Regions from separate parts of the Homo sapiens genome. Here region 2 is linked to region 1. The links are contacts of gene promoters, found by promoter capture Hi-C in blood cells and fetal thymus (Javierre and others, 2016). All regions are on one chromosome and are shown on one strand. The core of a region is centred on a gene start or on the middle of the fragment in contact, and the rest is flanking DNA. Distances in the headings are between cores, read along the strand shown.

Region 1 (2,993 bases), core at 336-2,835:
GACTGAGAGCAGATCCTTTTGACCCCCAGTGCTGAGATCCCCTGCATAGCTCATGCCTCAGCTTCCCAGCCTTAAACCTAAAGGAACTGAAGGCTCCCTGTTAAAAAAAAAAAAAAGAAAGAAAAAAAAGCCTTTTAAGTTCTGACCAGACTGGGCACAGTGGTTAACACCTGTAATTCCAGCACTTTGGGAGGCCAAGGCGGGTGAATTACCTGAGGTCAGGAGTTCGAGACAGCCTGGCCAACATGGCAAAACCCCGTCTCTACTGAAAGTACAAAAATTTGCCAGGTATGGTGGCAGGTGCTTGTAATCCCAGCTACTCAGGAGGCTGAGGAAAGAGAATTGCTTGAACCCGGGAGGCGGAGGTCGCAGTGAGCCAAGATAGCACCACTGCACTCCAGCCTGGGAGACAGAGCGAGACTCCATCTCAAAAAAAAAAAAAAAAAAAAAAGTTCTGGCCAACTGCCCTCTAGACAAATTCTATCCTCTGTTATTCTCTGCATTCTTTGGAGGGAGAGGCACACTTACTTATTAACCATGACCTATCTTTTTCCATGACAATTTCACAACCTTTCCTTTAGTTGTGCCCATCCCCATTCCCCCTTTCCTAGGTGTTCATATCCCACCAATCCCACAGCGGGAGGCTGCTCATCCATAGACACTCCTAATTAGCCTGCATGCTTCTGTTGCTGGGATCACATCTCTGCCCTTTTCCAGGTGCCTAACACTTAATAGGTTCTTACTTGATCATCTTGCGACCTAAAAGCTTGTACATCTCTGCTCATTTTGACGTTGGTAGATCTTTGATCACTGATAAGCAATTCAGTCTGTTTTCTACACTTGCCCAATTCCTTTCTTCTGCCTTCTGCAGAAAGATTCATGTTTGTGTGTATTCTGCAGAGGGTCCCAGAGGCAGAAATCTGGCAGTGTCTACCTGTGGGTGAGGGTGTGGGAGACAGCTCCCAGCACACTGCAGTGTGGGCTCCTACGCAATCCACTCCACGTAGGTTATGTAAGCACGAGCTATTCATGCATGTGAGGCTCTGCTGTTTCCCCATATGATTTGGGTACTCTGTTGGTAAAGGTTGTATGAAAGTGCATGCATATCTCTCTAAGTGCATACTTAAGTGAGCCCAGACTTTCAAAGATTTTCATATTTTGAACACATCACCACGTACTTGTTTTTTAAGTTAAAAAAATGTAACACTGCTCCCTCTTTTCACCCAATTCCTCATTTTCACCAGTCTCTGGCACCACTGTCTCCCCTCATCCATGGCTCCCCTCTCCCCTTAGAGCACTTTACCTGTGTGGGGTGGACGTTGTGGCGGGGGCCTGCATCCTTCCGGAGCCTGTGCTGGAGGCCCCCATTCTCAGAGGGCAGTCCGTAGCTGGTGCAGTGTTCAAAGGGCATATACTGGTACTGGGGGTCACTACCCCACCAGCTTTGTTCACCCCCACGCTGCTGTGACCGGGATTGCTCCATATTCCCTCCCCCCGAGCCCCGGCCAGGCCTTGGCCTGCTTGCCCCTGTCCTTCCCCCAGTGTAGCTCCTTAAGCCTCTGCTCTTGCTGTCCCCAAGGCGTCTGGGGCAGCATGCCCACCTCCAGCTATTTATAGACCCCTCTCCGTCACATGACCCCCCACTGCCACATCTGATCTGCTTGGGGTCGAAGCAGGTGTGAGTGCAGTGTGGGGGTGGGGGTTGGGATGAGAACCTGAGGGACAGCCCCACAGGGAATTCCCTCTGCTGAGCCAGTGGCATTGTCCCCCTTCTTAGTCACCAGTAGTAGGCTTCCAGCTCCATGTCACTGGTCCCTCTATAAATATCGCCTGGACCAGGATGAGAAACTGCTGAGTATGCTCTCAAACCTATGTGTAGAGCCGGATCTGCATGGAAGCCCTCCAGTTGCCCATCTCTCTTCTTCAGGATGCGGAAGGTGAGGGGTGGGTGCTGGATAAAGATGAAGCGACTCGAAGTTCTGGAAACACTGGCACATTAACTCACCTGGGAAAGTAACTGGTGCCTCTCTGCCACATCTCCTGGCCAGCTTGTTCCCAACTCTGTGTCCACCCAGGGTTCTGTCTGGCCAGCTCTGCCAGCCCATCCCATGTCCAGCGTTCTTCTCTAGCTCTTTGCCCTTCTGTCTGCCAGAGGCTGCTAATAACAGCTTGGGGGCATCCCCTGATCCCATCCTTATCACTCACTGGGTGTGGAACACTTATGGGAAGTGGGAAGTCGAGGGTCGGTAATAGCCTTGGGTTCTAGAATTTCTCCCACTTCCCAGACTGTTAGGTGTCAGCCACACTGCCAACCCGGAGGGACTGAGCTTCCATTTGGACTGTGGAGTGCCCACACTGGCTCCATCAGATAGATAACAAGGGAGATAACAGGGGAGAATCGAAAGTAGAAAGAGGCACAGGGAAGGGAGAGGTGGGAAAGGGGTGAGGGCTTCTCATGACAAGCCCGACAAACATGAAAGATGATGGGGAAGTGCTCTCTGCTATTCTTCCCTTTTCAGGTCAATAAATACTTTTTTGGCCAAGGACAAACTTTTCTTCCTGGCATCACGTTATAAAACCAATTTTCCTATGACATGTCTTCCCTATGAACTCTTCACTGTAGGAGAAAAGATATGAACTGAGCCAAAGTAAAGTTTAGGATGCATTACCAAGTGGGGTCTGTCCCAGGACAGTCCAAGTTCAGGGACTGCAGGGTAGGGACACCAAACATCTGGTCTACAATGTGATTTTGACCTAGGCTAAATGGAACCACCCAAAGCAGGAGGGAAGCCAATATCATTAAAAGTACTTTTTCTAGGGCCTCAACATCATTAATCATCAGGAAACCAAAATCATAATGCAATATCGCCTCATACCTGTTAGGATGGCTATTATCAAAAAAGCAAGAGATAGCCATTATTATGGCTATGGATATTATGGTTCATGCTTATAATCCCAGCAATGTGGGTGACCAAGGCGGGTGGAATGCTTAA
Region 2 (3,044 bases), core at 292-2,791, 430 kb after region 1:
CACCGATGCACATCATGAACACACGCATAAACACCACACACAAATGCACATGGGCACACACGCCATACACACGCCACACACACACTCCCCTGGCTGGGTCTTCCAACTCTGAGTCAGAGAAAGTTAGGACAAAACAGACTCTGAAGCTAGGAAGTGATCCACACACCTGTGACTCTGAACACCCAGACACCTGCCCCTAGGCTATTGGCACCTGGCTGGCACCAGGAGGTTGGATAAGCCCGGGCTTCTGCCCCTTTCCAGTGGAAAAGTTGAACTAAATGACCTTTCCGACAGCTTCCAGCAAGCTCATGATGGAGCTCTTTGTTGTGGGAAGACGATGGGCCATGCTTAATGCCATCATTCTTCTGTATGACTGTGCGAGTCACTTAACCTCTCTGAAGCTCTGTTGGCCAGTTAGAATGAGGAGGTGTGCTAGGGAGAAAGAAGTGGGCTTGGAATGAGGGATGGGTGTGAATCTTGCCTCTGCCACCTCTATGGCCTTGGGAGAGTTCCTTTACCATGGTGAGCTTTGGTTTCTCCCATCAATACAATGTAGATAATAATACCTGCCTTGCAGGTTTGTTACGAGTTTACCTGGGAACGCTCAGTTAAAAGGCCCAGCACACAGTAGCAGCTGAATGTCACCTCCACGGGAAGGCTGGCAGATAGAATACTTGCAAAACGTGGGGTATATTTATACTAAAAAATTCTTTGTTGTTTATCTAAAATTCAAATTTGACCACGTGTCCTGTATTTTATCGGGCACCCACCCCATGCACGGGGCATTGTGGACAGTCTGTGGAGCTCCTGAGCAGGGGGTCTGCCCAGAGCTAGATTTTGTGCCCTGGCTGGTGAGCGAAGAATGCATTTTACATCTTTGGGGGTGGTTAGAAAACAACCACCAAAACAAAACCAAAGAATAACGTACATTAGAGAGTGTACATGGCTTGCAAAACCTAACATCTTTACATTTCCTATCAGCCCTTCCAGAAAAAGTTTGCTGACCCAAAGGTGATGGGGACTGAGAGGAAAGTCTGGGAGAACTGAGTATCTTCGCAATTTATATACCTATTTCAGGCCTGGCAAGAATGAAACTGGAAGAGTCCAGAAAATGGAATTCTCCAGGACATAAGCAGGGGGAGGCAGAGAGTGAGGCAGGTGGTCGGCAGAAGAGGCACTGTGGGAAAGTGGGGCGCTCCCTCCTGGGAGTCCTCAACATTGGGAATGGGCCTGCCCTGACTCCTCCCCTCCTTTCTCACTGCCTAGAGTCTCTCAGGGTAGGTCACTGGGTGTTCTGACGTCCAAGGGAGGCCTCGCCAGTCTTTCTGAAGGCCTCCCTGGTTGTGACTGGCCTGGGGGCAGGGAGAGAGCCCTGGGTGGAGAAAGAATTGGAGTTGGCACAAGTCCCCCTTGGTAGGCAGGTCTGTGGCTGGCCTGTGTCTTTAAATCTCAGGTAATTTGGGAGGAGGGAGGGCGTGTCCGTGCAGCTTTGGCTCCTCCTGCTCACTCCCAGCAGGAGCTCCAGACAGGCCAGCCCTGCAGAGTCCTGGCTGGCTCTGCCAAGTGTAACAAACTCACAGCCCTCTCCAAACTGGCTGGGGCTGCTGGGAGACTCCCAAGGAACTCGTCAGGAAGGCAGGAGACAGGAGACGGGACCTCTACAGGGAGACGGTGGGCCGGCCCTTGGGGGGGCTGATGTGGCCCCAAGGCTGAGTCCCGTCAGGGTCTGGCCTCGGCCTCAGGCCCCCAAGGAGCCGGCCCTACACCCCATGGGTTTGTCACTGCCCAAGGAGAAAGGGCTAATTCTCTGCCTATGGAGCAAGTTCTGCAGATGGTTCCAGAGACGGGAGTCCTGGGCCCAGAGCCGAGATGAGCAGAACCTGCTGCAGCAGAAGAGGTAAGGCCCCCTTGGTCTGCTCCCTTCCCCACCTCCCCAGGCCTGCACCTCTACCCCTCACCCCTCCCTCACCTCCCGTCTTTGTTTGGCACCTTTGGCTGGACAGATGGTGCTCCCAGGCCCGGACTGGCTCCTTGGGAGCATTCTGTCTTAAGAGCCTCAGCCTGTAGGGCTGGTGAAAGAGGATGGGGTTGAGATGGGCACAGGTGTTCACTATCTTAAGATCTAATTCGATTCTGCAAGCCTCTTGTGAGTACTTCTCTAAGGGCCAGGCGTCTTGCTGGGGCTTGTAAGGATAGAGCATCACAGCCCCTCCACCCAAGAGGGGACGGCAGGTGAGGACAATGCCTTCTGTATCTCCACTGCTTGCCTCTAGAACAGTCTCTCTGGCAGGAACACATAGTATACATATGTTCGCATGGAGGAATGAGTGAACGATTGAATGAATGAAGCAGAGAGAACCGCGGACACCAGGAACCAGAAAATAAGACAAAATGTGAAAAAAGTGACCATTCCTATGTATCTGTCTCATCAGACACTGACCAAGGCCTTACTATTTGCCCAGCACTGGGGGGATATGAAGACCTACAACGCTCAAACCCAACCTTGAGGTGTATTTCTCTCTCAGTGCGGGTGGGGACTGAGGGGAAGCGGGTCAAAATAACAGATGTTCCGAGGACCTGTGCTCTTCCGCATTCAGGTGGTGGAAATCGAGACTCTAGCGTTTAAGCCCTAAGGACATTCACTGGTGGCTTCCAGCCCCTGAAAACTTCCTAAACCCGTGTCCTGCTTTCTTCACCATGACAGCTTGGAGTACAGAGCAGGAGAGGAGCAGGGAATCGGAACTCAGGGCTATCCCTGCATGTGGTCTCTTCTTCAAGGTCTCTAATAGAGTTCTCTACCCAGTTGGTGGCATGCTAGAAGGAAGTCCTGCCTGTTGGGGCTTTCCCTGGGTCACGAAGGAGGCAGATGTCTGGTCATAGAGGAAAGCCTGAAGTCTTTGTGCCTTAGGGTTTTTCTCTGACCCCAAGAGTAGGAGCCTGCTTTAGCCTGACCGGGGAGGCTGCCTGGAGGCCCCTGTGTTTTCTTTTGCTGAAGGATTCTGGGTTGGGGATGGTCTCTTTCTGTGAATTATGGCTTCCCATCT

The links. The method cuts DNA at HindIII sites, captures the fragments that hold promoters and counts their contacts. A CHiCAGO score of 5 or more calls a contact.
Region 2: the fragment with the promoter of TRPV6 here is called in contact with the fragment with the promoter of CLCN1 in region 1 in 2 of 17 cell types (neutrophils and monocytes); the score reaches 5.4 in neutrophils.

What each region holds. Positions count from the first base shown.
Region 1 is chr7:143,314,703-143,317,695 of GRCh38, reverse strand. It overlaps CLCN1 (chloride voltage-gated channel 1), which reads right to left and starts at 1,585. Exons shown (of 23, transcript NM_000083.3): 1 at 1,304-1,585. The coding sequence starts at 1,483. The HindIII fragment of the contact is 3,265 bases long and covers 769-2,993 here.
Region 2 is chr7:142,884,242-142,887,285 of GRCh38, reverse strand. It overlaps TRPV6 (transient receptor potential cation channel subfamily V member 6), which reads left to right and starts at 1,541. Exons shown (of 15, transcript NM_018646.6): 1 at 1,541-1,897. The coding sequence starts at 1,650. The HindIII fragment of the contact is 18,692 bases long and covers 1-3,044 here.